Linked DNA regions of Homo sapiens: regions 2 and 3 are each linked to region 1. Evidence: promoter capture Hi-C in human tissues and cell types (Jung and others, 2019). All regions are on one chromosome and are shown on one strand. Each heading gives the region's core, a stretch centred on a gene start or on the middle of the fragment in contact. The rest is flanking DNA. Distances are from core to core; before and after follow the strand shown.

Region 1 (5,043 bases), core at 1,276-3,775:
AAAAGATACATCGGATACTTTACTAAAATATCTCCTTCCTACCACCTTAAAACTTAAAGCAAGTCTTGACTAGGGGAAAAGGAAGTAACACAAAGGTAATCTGTGGAAGCCGGATGGAGAGGCTTCCAGTCTGATCTGTCTCTTTCCAAATGTCCAGGTCCCAGGCTACTAAACCAAAGGCTCATCTTGGGTTGGGGCTCAGCCTCGGCCCTGCCTGTGGCAGAGAAGAAAGAGAAACAAGAAACAGTCTCATGAGAAGCTGGCTATCTATGGGGCAGGCATTAAAGAGAGTCAAGAAAATCACTCCAAAAACACAAAATCCTGTCTCCCCAGGGTTCCCAATAACGGAAACATCATCATTATGAATTATGCCAACATATGTTGTTTCTGTTGCCTCACTAGAGTTGCTCTTTTGGTGACAGATCCTGGATTCTTCTTGGAGAACCACCCTTCCCGATTTCAACCCCTGGGCCACATCCACTGGTGTGTTCCCTCCTCCTGGACTGCAGTCCTTGATCCAGGGTGCGTGCTCCAGGCTTTGGTTAGAGTTACTGGGAAAGAGTTGTACCTTTTCCTTTCCAGGATCTAAACCAAGGATGTGAGTCCAAGGCTGCCAGAAGGAAAAAGAATCAACACAGGGGAACACGGAGGAGGACTGGAGAGACACCTGCTCGAAAGACTCCTTTTGAGCTCCTGGGTCTAGCCATGCCTGAAGAGGACCTTTATCCTTAACTTTTCAGTGATGTCAGTGAATACATTTCCATTTTTATTTAAAATGAAGTAAGTGGCACAGTGCAGCCAATATTTTCTGTTGAACTCTATCCTTCGGGTGGCTCACTTTATTCCTCATTGAAGGAAATAGCGTGTGGGTAGAGTGGGATGTGAGGAAGAGGGCAGGCAGGTGCCCAGTTTTGTGCATACAGACCCTTGGTCCTGGAGCAGGCAGTGGGCCTCTAGGTTCTGCCTTAGCCGTCACGGGCGCCTAGGCCTTGTTACCTCACTGGACAACGTTGGGTGGAATGATAGGCAGGGTCCTTTCCAGCCTGATACTTCGTTTCCAGCCCCAAATCCACTCAGTAGAGTGGATGGTCGCTCCGGCTGCCACCTTGGGAATTCCAAGGATAGGGGTGGTGGTGGCTTGTCCTTCCTTCTACAGGTGAGGTCTTCTCACATGCTTTGGTACCAACGATATCATATGTCTTTTCGTGGTTTGTGAACAGAAGGTGATAAAGTATTTCTCTAAAATTCTAGCTTTTATTCATAAATTCTTAGCATTTTCATTTTCTTCTCCCTTGACCCCGTTTCCGTCGTTTCTGTCTCATAAGCTAGAGCTGGGAAGATGCGGTCGCCCATGCTGCGGCCTGCTGTCTCCTGCGGAGCAGCTCTCCCCAGATCTGTGTGTTTGCCATAATATACTCTCACTTTTCTCCGCACCCAGAGAGGATATACATTTGTTACATGTTTACAAACCAGAATAAAACCATTGAACTGAGGTGACAGGAGGTGGAACCCGTGGAATATCAGTGTTTGTAACCCACTGCGCCACCAGCTCCAAGCTGTAGACACATTTTCTTTCAGCCCCCGGGGCTGGTGTTGCCATTTCTGCGGAGTAGTTCACCTGCGGGCAGGTGGTTCTCAGTTCCCAAAGTCGGGTGGCAAGGGGTGCTCTCCCGAAATGCTGACGCTTCCCCTGGGATGTCAGCAGAGTCGATGCGGACGAAATGAGGTAGCCCAGGCGTGTCTGGGAGGGTGAGCTGTCCGAGCTACTTGGGGCAGGTAGGTCTTCTAATCCCCCATCGCGGCCTAGGTCCGACCCTGCCCCAACCGCCGCCACCGGGCAAGAAAGGCTGGGCCTCCAGGGTGCCCTGGGCACAGGCCTGGGCTCCGGAGGGCGGCGCTGGCCGGGTGCAGCCCCCTGGAACCCAGGCAGGAGGCGAGCCTGGGCGTCACTGGGGGCCGGGGCCGGCGACAGCCGCGGCGCGAGGGTGGGAGGGGACGCGCCCGGCTGGATCCAGAGCGCAGGCTGGCAGCTCACCGAGGCCAGCCCCGTCCCGTCCCTTCTGGGGTTTGGAGGCCCCAGCCTCGCCGCCCTCACTCCCCAGAGCGGCGCTCTCCCAGTCACCCTGGGGGCCGCCCTGCCCCGCCTCGCGCCCACAGAGCTGGGACCCCGGGACCCACTCCCTCAGGCAGGCTGCGTCGCCCACGGCTGCGGCCCGGAGGGGCAGGGGGCGGGCTAGGACCCGGGCGGGGATTCCGGGAGCCGAGAGCTATTTTTGCAAACGCGTCAGCCGCTGGGGAGGAAGAGCCGGCTCCGCGCCCATTGTGTCTGCGCGGCGCGGCGCGGGAGGGGCCGGGGGGCGGCGGGGGGCGGCGGGGACGCAGCGAAGCGCGCGAAAACGGCCGGCTGGGCGGGGAGGACCGCGCCTGACCCCCGGCGGCGGGCGGGGCGGGGCCCGGGGCGGGTCCGGGGGCGGGTCCGGGGCGGGGCGCGAGGGGGCGGGTCCGGGAGCTCTCCGGCCGCTGCAGGCTGGCGGCTGCTGCGGCGGCGCGGGGACTGTGAGGCTGCCGAGCGGACAGCGACTCCCGGGGAAGCCCGCGCTCCGGGAGCGGGAGCGGGAGCAGGAGCAGGAGCAGCGCCGTCCCAGGCCAGAGGCGAGCGCCGGGCGCCGGGAGAGCGGAGAGCCCGGGCAGCTGCCGGAGCGCGGGGGCGCGGCCCGAGGAAACCACAGAGCGAGCCCAGGCCTGGGGAGGGCGCCGAACATCTGAGGCGGCTTCGCGGGAGACAAAGCCGCGCGTAGAGACGCGATGCCCGCCGATCGCGAGCCCGGCCGGCGAGGGCGCGGGGACTGCGGCGTCTGAGCGCGCCAAGCCGTGCGCCCGCGGGGACGCCGAGCCCCGGGGCCGGTGCGGGCGGCGGCGGGCGGGGCCCAGGTGCGCCCGGCCGCGTCGGGCCCGTGACTGCTCGGGGGGCGGCGCCCTCCCGCCGCAGCCGCAGTGGCTGGCGCCGCAGCCAGGAGCCATGGGCAACATCTCCTCTAACATCTCGGCCTTCCAGTCCCTGCATATCGTCATGTTGGGCTTGGACTCGGCCGGCAAGACCACGGTGCTCTACCGGCTCAAGTTCAACGAGTTCGTGAACACGGTGCCCACCATCGGCTTCAACACCGAGAAGATCAAGCTGAGCAACGGCACGGCCAAGGGCATCAGCTGCCACTTCTGGGACGTGGGCGGCCAGGAGAAGCTGCGGCCGCTGTGGAAGTCCTACAGCCGCTGCACGGACGGCATCATCTACGTGGTGGACTCGGTGGACGTGGACCGGCTGGAGGAGGCCAAGACGGAGCTGCACAAGGTGACCAAGTTCGCCGAGAACCAGGGCACGCCGCTGCTGGTCATCGCCAACAAGCAGGACCTGCCCAAGTCGCTGCCGGTGGCAGAGATTGAGAAGCAGCTGGCGCTGCACGAGCTTATCCCGGCCACCACCTATCACGTCCAGCCGGCGTGCGCCATCATCGGCGAGGGCCTCACCGAGGGCATGGACAAGCTCTATGAGATGATCCTGAAACGCAGGAAGTCCCTCAAGCAGAAGAAGAAGCGGTAATGCGCCCGGAGCGACCGGGGAGCGAGCGAGTGCGTCAAGAAAGAATGAATGGATGGATGGATGGTTGGATGGATGGATGGATGGATGAGCGAGAACCCGCGCCCGCGAACAAAGAGCGAACCAAAGCGATGCTTCGAATTTTTAAAACGGAATCTCTGCACCCAAATGCAGGACTGGTGACTTAAGGAGCTGCGAAGTCTGATTTACCGGCCTACTCTCGACCTGCCCCCCACCCCCAGCTCAGGGGACCTTTTGTCTGAACGCCAGAGCTACTGACCAGGTCGGGGGGCCGCGGTGGGGAGTGGAAGAGCCGGTCCTGCTGTCCGCCCTCCCAGCCCCAGGTGGAAGGCTCAGTTGTCGGAAAGACAAAAGCGATTTCTTCCCACTCCTGCAGGGCCAGAAGTTCAGGCTGCCCCGCCTCCACTGGGGGATCGCACCTGTGAATTACCTGAGGTATGCATTTCCCAGAACCGTGGGCGTACCCACCTTGGGGGGCATGTTGGTTCTGGGGGGACCACCTCTCCTTGCATTCAGGGGCTGTGAAGCTGAGTAATTTTCGGTCACAGGGCAGGCCCCTGTTGAAATTTCATTTGTCCTGCTCTGGGCCCAAAGGTGGTGGTGGTTTGGGTCATCAGAGGACTGCCTGGGACGGTTCAGCGGGCACGGAGCGCTGTGCTGGCCTGGCTGGGGATGGCCGCGGAGGTGCCCTTTTCCTGGTGCTTTGTGGTGGCTGCAGAAGACCAGTTTTGTTGAGAACTGCTTTTCAGCCTGGAATCAGACATCTTCCAGATGGTTTGGACCCTGTCCATGTGTAGGTCATTATCACACAAAGAGACCAATAAAAATAAAAAAAATAAAAAAAAAAAAAGACGAACTATTGGAGGTGGTGGCCAATGATGCATTTACTGTTTGCAGGATAGTTAAAGGTGTTTAAAGGGTAAGGCTTTTGGTGTAAATGCTGGATGGGGTGTGTGTGTGTGTGGATATAGGGACCTCCCTCTGTACTGTGTACTGTGTAATCGGCATTAATACCTAGACTCATATGTATGGAATTTTAAATTCTCTTAGCCTACTGATTGGTTTGGATGAGCACACCAGCTGCAGGTGTGTGCTGAATTGCAAGATGGTATTTTTTTTTTTAACCAAGGGATGTCTCTTGTAATACTAACCGCGTGATAATGGGTTTTCAGACATGATGAAAAAAAAAAACTTTTACAAATGAATACTTACCTTAGAAATATTCACCTTAGGAAAAAAGACTTTGCTCTGCCCTTTTATATTCCTTTATGCTGCAAGTGGTGACATGTTCAGATTTCTAATTTGGTTCATTGTGGCCTATCTGGTTTAAGTCTTTCATTAAAAATGTCTCGTTAGAGTATTTGATGTCATGCACCAAAAAAATAAAACCCCACCTTGTTGCAAAAGCTGACCTCGTTGCATGGAAT
Region 2 (5,043 bases), core at 1,833-4,332, 600 kb before region 1:
AGCCACCCAGTTGGGATAATTCTTTACAGTAGCCTTGGCAAACTAATACTAACCTTTTCCAGATTTCATTCATTGTGAAATGCGTTTGCGTGTGTGTGTGTGTTTAGTCAGATGTAAATTTATCACATATGTAGATACATGTGAGCACCCCTATAGTCAAGATACAGAAAAATTTCATTTCAATGATCCCTTGTGCTACCTTGGAAGATAGTCTCTGACAATCAGTAATCTGTACTCCACTTCTGTGATTTCCTCCCTTCAAGAGTGCCATAGAAATGAAATGAGACAATGTGTGACCTTTCAGGGTTGGCTTTCCCCACTCAGCATAATTCCCTTGAGATCCTTCCAAGTGGTTTGTTGTATGCATTAATAGTTTGAGTTTTTTTAATTGCTGAGTAGTACGCCATGGTATGGATGCACCACAGATTTTTTGTTTGTTTTTGAGACAGGGCATTACTCTGTCACCCAGGCTGAAGTGCGGTGGGGCGACCTTGGCTTATTGCAACCTCTATCTCCTGGGCTCAAGCCATCCTCCCACCTCAGCCTCCTGAGTAGCTGGGACCACAGGCATGTGCCACCACGCCTGGCTAATTTCTGTATTTTCTGTAGAGACAGGGTTTTGCCATGTTGCCCAGGCTGGTCTTGAACTCCTGAGCTCAAGTGATCCTGGCTTCAAGTGATCTTCCCATCTCGGCCTCCCAAAGTGCTGGGATTACCAGTGTGAGCCACTATGCCCGGCCTTACCACAGTTTTTTAACCATACACCCATGATGGATTACTTTGACTGTTTCCAGTTTTTGGCTATCACAAACAAGTCTATAATGAACACTGATGAACAAGTTTTTGTGTGAATAAAAGTTCTCATTTCTTAGGGTTAAATACCCAAGGGTACAACTGCTGGGCCATATGGCAAGTTCATGCTTGGTTTTGTAAGAAATGACTCATCCTCTTTTCCAGAGGATCTGTACCATTTCACATTCCCACCAGTCACATATGAGTGACCCAGCTTCTTCTCATCCTTGTCAACATTTGGCATGGTCGTTATTTTTATGTTAGCTACTCTGGCAGGTGTGTCTCCCATCCTATTCTGGTTTTATTTTACATTTTTCTGGCTGATCATGTTGTTCAGCCTTTCATGCGCTTATTTGCCATCTGCATATCATCACTGTAAGAGTTCTTCATGTATTCTAGAGGCAAGTCCTTTGTCAGATACGTGCTTTGCAAATATTCTTTCCCAGTCTACAGCTTGTTTCTTCAGTCTCTTAATGTGGTCTGTCAGAGAGCAAACATCTTTAACTATCACGAGGCCCAATTGATCAATTTCCTCTATTGTGGATGGTGATTTGGTGTCAAGTCAAAGAACTCTGACTAGCCCCGGATTTCAAAGATTCTCTCCTTGGGTTTTTTTCAAAAGTTTATAGTTCTATGTTTTATGTTTAAGTCCATGATCCATTCTGAGATAATTGTATATGGTGTGAGGTTTAGGTCAAGGTTCATTTTTGTTTGTTTGTTTTTGGACGATGGATGTCCATAGACAGTAGGCGTGTGCTAATTTTAAATAATTGATTCCTGTCAGTTGGTAATTGTATTTTTATTTTGTTTTTGTATTTTGCTCCCACAGGAGTCCCATGCTAAAGAGTGAGGGGAGAAGAAGGGAAAAAAGAGGAGATTGGCAAATCAAGGTTAAGGCATTCTTGAATCAAATACAAATAACACAACACAACATTCAAACCTTAGTTCCCACCTTGCCCTACCTACAGCGCTATGAGGATAAAGTGAAGGCGTGAGTGAGAAACTGCTTACAACCATGAAACCCATAAAGCAGACTTGGGTCATGGTTTGGATGTAAGTCCTGTCCCATGTGTGGCCAGTGTTAGAATGAAATCCCGCTGGGTAATTTACAATCACTTGTATTTATAAAGCATATTTATCTTAAAGTGCTTTCACATACAGTCTGCCTTTTGCCCTCACTGGTATTTAGTCATTTTCAGTCAAAAATATTGAGCCTATATTTATTAAATATATCTAATAAATTTAATAAATACATGAAATACAGTTAATAAATTTAATAAATATATTTAATAAATATAGGCTCAATATTTTATTAAATAAATCAGTCCTTTTATTAAATAAATCAATCCATTTATTAAATAAATCAGCATTTATTGAACATTTTATTAGCATTTACAGTGACAATAAAAGGGAGACTAGACACAGAGAGTAACATAAAAGCATATATGTTAACCTAAAGAATTGGAAATGTGATCTGTCATTCTTTTTTTTTTTTTTTTTTCGAGACAGAGTCTCACTCTGTCACCCAGGCTGCAGTGCAGTGGTGTGATCTCGGCTCACTGCAACCTCCGCTTCCCAGGTTCAAGCAACTCTCTGCCTCAGCGTCCCAAGTAGTTGGGATTACAGGCAACTGCCACCATGCCTGGCTAATTTTTGTATTATTAGTAGAGACGGGATTTCACCATTTTGGCCAGGCTAGTCTTGAACTCCTGACCTTGTGATCTACCTGACTCGGCCCAAAATGCTGGGATTACAGGCATGAGCCATCACGCTCGGCCATGATCTGTCATTCTTTAACAATGATTCTCATGTGACTACATACACTGAGCCTCAATGCAAGTCAGCCTCAAGTGCAGCTGGGCTGGCCACACAAGCAGGCACCTCTTGGGGGGAAGGGCCTTGACCTGGGTGAATTCTTTGCACCCCAGCTCTGGTTTCCAGAAACCCGATTTTGTTATTACACTGACAATGCCTATCTTTCTCAAGGACAGACACAAGTTAACTAGACTCATAAAAACTGATGTGTAAACCCTGAGGCTAATTTATCCATCAATAAGAAGAGAGGTGATTGTTGATGGGACAGAATGGTGTCCGTGTGACATGGCTCAGGGAACACTTTCTTCTGTAGGCTGTTTGCCAGGGCAGCTGGAATGATGACACTGCTTGATGCACAAAGAATTGGAAGAAGGTTGACCTTGGGATGTTCCTCTCATCCTAGGGGGTATGTGCCAAGGATACTTGACTGCACAAACCCCCTGAGGCAAGCTTCATTCAGCCCCAGGGAGCTAGAAGGGTCCTGCCAATGCTTGTGTCTAGGTTTCCACACCTGCCCAACACCCTTTCAACTCCAGCATGACCCAGTTCAGATGACTGGGTTTCTTTTGATTCATTTAAGATCCCGTTCTACCTCGCTTCCTCAACCTCACTGCCAGCTGGCATCTGATGTGCTCCCAAACTCTTCATCCTCATCTTCTGGAAAATCCCCTAAGTTTGCTGCCTCAGTGGTGAATGAAGTCCAGGGTGTGGATTTTACCAGCACTACTCCAGATGCTTGGAAATCCCCATCAGTGCTGCCCCAGGTTCTGGTTATCGATGCACATATTGGGTTTCTATAGATGCTGGCATAGGCTCTCTGAAATGAAAAATGGAGATTTGGGGGAAAGAAAGCTGTTTTAAAAAATAATAATAGCAGTACTTTGTTGTGTTTTTGTTTGTTTGTTGTTTTTTTGTTTTGGTTTGGTTTGGTTTTACATTGCCATGGGTGGACCTCTAGTAATTCCTCCCAATCCCTCATTCTGCAGCAGCTGCTCATCAGCAAGACGAGGTAGATGGCTGCAGAGCAGCGCAGGGACTCAGGCACAGACAGTGAGGCCTGCCCGCCTGTACCGGCAGAAGCCAGCAGGTTACCCAGAGCACACTCTTCCTTGTTTATATTGGATCACTCTGGTCCTGATGAGCTGAAGAATACCTGCAATTATCTCCAAATCCCAATGGGTTCTTCCAAGGCTTCAAAGTGCAAGGAAACCCACATCTGATTAACTATCACTGCTGCCGAGGGCAGGCATTCAGCTGCATGGAAGGCACGAAACCGCATTCGGAAGAAAGCAGTTTCAAACTCTCACAAGCTTCTAATTTCATTTAGTGCTCATAAGCACCCCATGGGGCAGATAATCCGTCCCACATGAGAGACGAAGCCACCAGTGATGAAATAAAAGGCTGCCCAAGGTCACTCTGGAACTGAGACCGGGACCGGACCTGTCTCCAAGGCCAGCGCGCCCTTGGTGTGCCTGACCTTGATGCACACGGCAAAAGAGCAAACAGGATTTGCTGCATCTGTGAGGATGCCCTGGTGCTTGTGGGGAGGAGGAGGAAGCATTGAGCTCGTGAACAGCATGAAAAGTCCAAGCCTTTGCAAAATTATTGAACTTGTGGAATTGGCATGGCCTTCAACAAATATGCCTCTCTTCTGCTAACAGAGTCCTAAGAGAACTGAACGTGGGGTGGGGATTCCAAATGGGCCTGGAGGACGCCTGCAAGGCTTCCAGGAGAGGGGCCTCCACCTCCTCACGTTCTTGGCACCTGGCGGGAACTCTGTGGTCACTCTGTCACTCTCACTCGCCTCTGAGCGATTTTAGGTTTTTGGAGCTGAGGAGCTGCCCCCAGCAGACCCACTGGCTGGGCAGGAGTCTTCCTGGGATGGCTGTGGGCTGAAGGCTGCCCTCTGTCCCGGTGCCACCTTCTAGGCAAATGCCGGCTGATGGGGACTGTGTTCCCAAAGCCATTGTTTAACAGTGACCTGGCAGCCTGGTCACTGAACTTCCCTGCAGTCAAACGTGGGTGTTAGGAAAGGATTTTGAAAAACATCCATACCACAATGTGGCTGCCAGGGTTACACGCTGGACACGTGAAATGTTAGGGCCAGGTCCTGTTTTCAGAGACTCTCAGGTTGGGGAAGGTGGAGCTTGTTCTTTTGATGAGGGGCATCCACTCTGCCAGCCTCCTGCCCCACGCCACTGCCTCTCTCCTCCAGCCACGCCCTGAATATATTCTTATCTGAATATACTATGACATTGGTGGCTACAAAATGGTAACTTTTTTCTAATTCTATTGTTTCTTATCTATTTATTACCTGAATTGTTCTGTAAAGAAGATCTGCCCCCAACATCACTTTTTGGAATTATTTTGGATTTGTGAATGCTTTTTTAAAAATGCAATGTGTTGTAATCCATTTTTAGAAAACACTCAAACCAT
Region 3 (5,043 bases), core at 665-3,164, 590 kb after region 1:
GCGAGTGGTGGAGGCAGGCTTGAAATCCAGACCATCTGGTTCCAGGGTCTTTTTGCTTAACCTCTTTGCTGAACCTCACGAGGCGCACGTGTGCACATGCACACACACATACACACATGCACGTACTCAGAGTCACTCAGAGTAAGAGGTACAGGGAGACAGGTTGGCCCAGATGAAGCTCAAAGAGAAGTTGAGGCTGTTCCAGCTGCCTTCTTAAGCTATACCTTAAGCTTAAGGTGGGAGAAGTCATGTTTTAAGAAATCTCCAAGGATTATCTTTAATGTCTCCATTCTTGTGTCTAATAAGCACCTCTGACTTAATAGGTCCCAGAGTGTTTGATTCCAAGCCACACCCCCAATCCAAACCTGCATCTCTTCCCCACATCAGCTCATTACACTATTGGCCAACTAATTGCTCAGACCAGTATCCCGGAGTCATCTTTGGTTCTTCTCTTTTTCCCTGGCCCAGTCCACCAGTAACTTGTCATTTCTGCCTCCAAATCTGATTCAGTGTATTCCAAATCTGACCATTTCTCTGGTCACTGCTGCTGACCTCCTTCATTCAAGGTGCCACCATCTCTTTTCTAGAAGTTGGCGACAGCTCCTAGCTAGTCTGTTGGCTTCCAGTTTGTTCACAGGATCCATTCTCCACACCCTCTTCCAAAGTCATCCTTTCAAAATACTTCTTGGATTATATCAGTCCCCTTTTCAGACTGACAGGTGGCTTCCCATTGTAGTCAGCACAACCCACTTCATACGATGGTCTACAACAACCACTCCAAATGATGGTCTACAGCAACCCACTGCACATGATGGTCTCCAACAACCCACTGCACGTGATGGTCTACAACAACCCACTCAAATGATGGTCTCCAACAACCCACTCAAATGATGATCTACAACAACCCACTCCTTATGATGGTCTACAAAAACCCACTCAGGTGATGGTCTACAACAACCCACTCAGATGATGGTCTACAACAACCCACTCCCTATGATGGTCTACAAAAACCCACTCAGGTGATGGTCTACAACAACCCACTCCTTATGATGGTCTACAAAAACCCACTCGGATGATGGTCTACAACAACCCCCTCAGATGATGGTCTATGACAACCCACTCCCTATGATGATCTCCAACAACGCACTTCAAATGATGTTCTGCAACAACCCACTCCCTATGGTGGTTTACAACAACCCACTCAAATGACGGTCTACAGCAACCCACTCCTTATGATGGTCTAAAACAACCTACTCCAAATGATGATCTAGAGTAACCCACTCCCTATGATGTTCTACAACAGCCCACTCCCTATGATGATCTACAACAATCCACTCCAAATGATGATCTACAACAACCTATGACCCTGTCTAAAACAACCTATGACCTTGTCTCCCTATGCTCTCTCCCTTGATTCCTTCTTGGGCTCTTAGTGCTTTCATTTTATATCACAACTCCTTCCCCCAGATCTTCTAGTACCTGGCTGCCTAAAAATGTATAAGGCAGAGGTTAAGAGCTCAGGCTTCAAAAGAGGACTGCCTGGGTGAAAATTCCAAATTCACCATTTTACCTGTGTAATCTTGAGCAACTTTTGTAACTTCTCTGAGCTTATTTCTTCATCTAGAAAACAATGAAAATAATAATAGTATCTACCCAGAGTTCTTGTGAAAACTAAATGAGTCAACCCCATGTAAAGCACACAAAGCAATATTTTTCTTAAGAACTGTTCACCATTGTGATTATAACTATTAATATTATCAATATGATTATTAACAGCAAATAAATTATGATTTGAGTTTGGACTTTGAAGAGTCAGACCGCTGCTCATCATTGGCTATGTGAACTTGGTAACCTCTCTGTGCAAATAGAAAATAGAGTTTTCTTCTTTGTTAAGTAGCAATTTGGCAAATGTAAATGTAACAAATGGAAATTTACATCATCCTCAGAGATATTTAATTAGTTAATACAAATAAAGCACTCAAAATAGTGCGTGGCACACAGCAAGCATTCTGAAGTGCTCATCTTTTTTTTTTTTTTTTTTTTTTTTGAGACGGAGTTTCGTTCTTGTTGCCCAGGCTGGAGTGCAATGGCGTGATCTCGGCTCACCGCAACCTCCTCCTCCCGGGTTCAAGGGATTCTCCTGCCTCAGCCCCCCGAGTAGCTGAGATTACAGGCATGTGCCACCACACCTGGTTACTTTATTGTATTTTTGGTAGAGACGGGGTTTCTCCATGTTGGCCAGGTTGGTCTTGAAATCCTGACCTCAGGTGATCCGCCTGCCTTGGCCTCCCAAAGTGCTGGGATTACAGGCATGAACCACTGCGCCCGCCCCATCATCATCATTATTATATTCTGATTATTATTATCTTCTTCCAGGTGTCTGTTCAGCCATTCTATCATCCAGAGGCCCTTGCTCATCCCCCACCCTAGCCACTCTGTCATATCAGCTTGCCTTGTTTTTCATTATTGCATTGAGCACTACTTGACATTAGTATCTTCAGTGCAGTGTTACACATCATTGATGGTCTCTCTCCCCTTCTAGCCTTTTCACCAGTGTGTCCCCAGTGCCAGAAGCAGAGACTGGAACATGGTGGGACTCAATAAAAGTCAGATGAACAAGCGTCACATTTTTCATGTGTGGAAAGGCTCTGTTTGCATGAGGACTCTGTTCCCTGGGATTGTTGTTCTGCTATGCAAGTTCATGGCCAACCATCATTGCACATCAAACCTTAATGGAAGGTCTCAGTGATTTTTCCCTAAGTGCATTTTGCTGTTCTCAAGTTGCTGCTGCTCAAGCAGCTGTCTGCATAGAGCATGGACCTCAATGGCAATTCTCCCTTGGCTCATGTGCTCAGACACACCCTCTCATATTTACCTTCTCCTTTTACTCATTGATTTATTCTTTAGTTTATTACTCAATTCATTCATTAACCTAGCAGTGATTTAGTGCCAACTATGTACGGGCCTAATGCAGAGCACTGAAGTTATAAAGATTCATACGAATCGGTGCCTACTTGAAAGGAGTTACAATATAGCCAAGGAGGAAGATACAGAAATGGAGAATTAAAACGCAGTGGGTTTACTGATGGATGTAGGCATTGTTTCTATAGGAGTCCCCAAAAGGGACAGCAACATGGCCCAGGGGAATGAGAAAAGACTGCCCCTCCACCATGTTCCTGAAGGAGCATGAACCAAAACACAGGGTGAGGATCAGCAAATCGATGGGTGTGGCTAGAGCTTGGAGTAAAGGGTGGGGTGTATGTGGAGGACAGGAGATTGAGTAGGTGGGCAGGGGGACTTCTATGGCCTGGTAGAGGACTTTGGAACTTATCTTGCAAGCAACACGTAAGTACTGAACAGGCTTATCACAAGATCAATGCCAGATTTGGGATTTAGGAGATCGCCCCGTGTCTCTCTGGTGGTCAAGTCAAGAATGGAAACAAAGGAACAATATGGTCCCAACAAGAGGTGAGGAGAGTGATAATGATGATGGAGAGAAGGGATGATTTTTTTAAACATTAGGAGGCCTGGATGATTGATTGACATAGGATATGAAAGAAAAGGAAGAATTAGCCAAGCTTTCTAGTTCTGTCTTGGGAGACTGGTTGCAATTCCTTCTGACTCACTATCACTGCGCTCACTGTAATTGCAGTAGAAACTCTTACCAACACCATCAGAACCAGTAGTCAGTTTCTTTGAGGAGCATCAAAAAAGTTAGACTCTTGAGAAGGCCGGGCGCACTGACTCAAGCCTGTAATCCCAGCAATTTGGGAGACTGAGGCGGGTGGATCACAAGGTCAGGAGATTGAGACCATCCTGGCTAACATAGTGAAACCCCATCTCTACTAAAAAATACAAAAAAAAAATTAGCTGGGCATGGTGGTGGGCATCTGTAGTCCCAGCTACTCAGGAGGCTGAGGCAGGAGAATGGCGTGAACCTGGGAGGCGGAGGCGGAGCTTGCAGTGAGCAGAGATCGTGCCACTGCCCTCCAGGCTGGGAGACAGAACGAGACTCCGTCTAAAAAAAAAAACTGTAGTAGACAGAATAATGGCCCCCAAAAGACGTCTGCATCCTAATTCCTAGAACCTGTGAATATGTCAAGTCACATGGAAAGGGGAATTAAGGTTGCAGACGGCAGATGCAGACCACACTAAGGTTGCAGACGGCACTAAGGTTGCTAACCAGCAGATCTTAAAACAGGGAGATTATTTTGGACTATCTGGGTAGGTCCAGTGGCATCACAATGCAAAAGGGAGACAGGAGACTCAGTATCAGAGAAAGAAATGGAAGCAGAATCAGACAGATGCAACACGGCTGGCTTTGAGGACAGAGGAAGAGGCCATAAGCCAAGGAATATGGGCAGCCTCTAGATGTTGGAAAAAGCAAGGAAATTGATTTCCCCTTAGAGCCTGCAGAAGGAACGCAGCCCCGCCAACACCTTGATTTTAGCCCAATGAGACCTGTGCTGAACTCCTGAAGTACAGAATTGGAAGATAAGAAGTTTGTGTTAAATCAGTTTTATGATTATGGGGGACTTTATTTTACCATTTATGAAGCAATTTCACATATGCTAGCTAACTTGGTTCTGCAATGCTGTGAGGCAGGTTTTATGGCCCCCATTTTATAAATGAAGAAATTAAGGCTCAGAGAAATTAAGGTACTTGCTCAAAACCTCTCATCAATGATGTGCTGGAGCAGGGATTAAGTTCTGGTCCTGTGTAGGGCCCTTCCTCTGCCCTACGTTGCCTCTCCTATCTTGAGTGATGTTCTCACACTGAAAGCCACCTCTACGGATCAAAACGTGGACAAATGCAAGATGAGAATTTTCTTTTATTTGAATTCTGAATGTAAAAAGTAAGGAAATGGATAGCCGCTTCATTAATGGCAAGAATATTTATTTAAATGTTCTCAAAACCCTTGTCTTTCTCCCTCCATTCTTTCTTCCTTTCTTCCTTACTTCCTTTCGTCTTTCCTTCCTGATGTTAGGCACAGTGGAAGTTACAACAATAAATGAAACTACTCTTCCCTCAGAGGGTATAAAA

Evidence for each region. Contacts are between HindIII fragments. The study calls those that stand out against the background at their distance.
Region 2: a fragment that was not itself captured here is called in contact with the fragment with the promoter of ARL4C in region 1 in 1 of the 25 tissues and cell types used here (mesenchymal stem cells).
Region 3: a fragment that was not itself captured here is called in contact with the fragment with the promoter of ARL4C in region 1 in 1 of the 25 tissues and cell types used here (heart left ventricle).

The regions. Positions count from the first base shown.
Region 1 is chr2:234,494,563-234,499,605 of GRCh38, reverse strand. It overlaps ARL4C (ARF like GTPase 4C), which reads left to right and starts at 2,525. Exons shown (of 2, transcript NM_001282431.2): 1 at 2,525-3,594; 2 at 3,770-5,043. The coding sequence starts at 3,020. The coding sequence ends at 3,800. RefSeq lists an enhancer at 1,490-2,263 and silencers at 2,448-2,737, 2,848-2,947. The HindIII fragment of the contact is 18,774 bases long and covers 1-5,043 here.
Region 2 is chr2:235,091,697-235,096,739 of GRCh38, reverse strand. No RefSeq gene overlaps it. Among named protein-coding and RNA genes, the nearest start is that of SH3BP4, 140 kb to the right of the region's middle. The HindIII fragment of the contact is 3,221 bases long and covers 1,472-4,692 here.
Region 3 is chr2:233,903,975-233,909,017 of GRCh38, reverse strand. No RefSeq gene overlaps it. Among named protein-coding and RNA genes, the nearest start is that of TRPM8, 11 kb to the left of the region's middle. The HindIII fragment of the contact is 4,889 bases long and covers 1-4,358 here.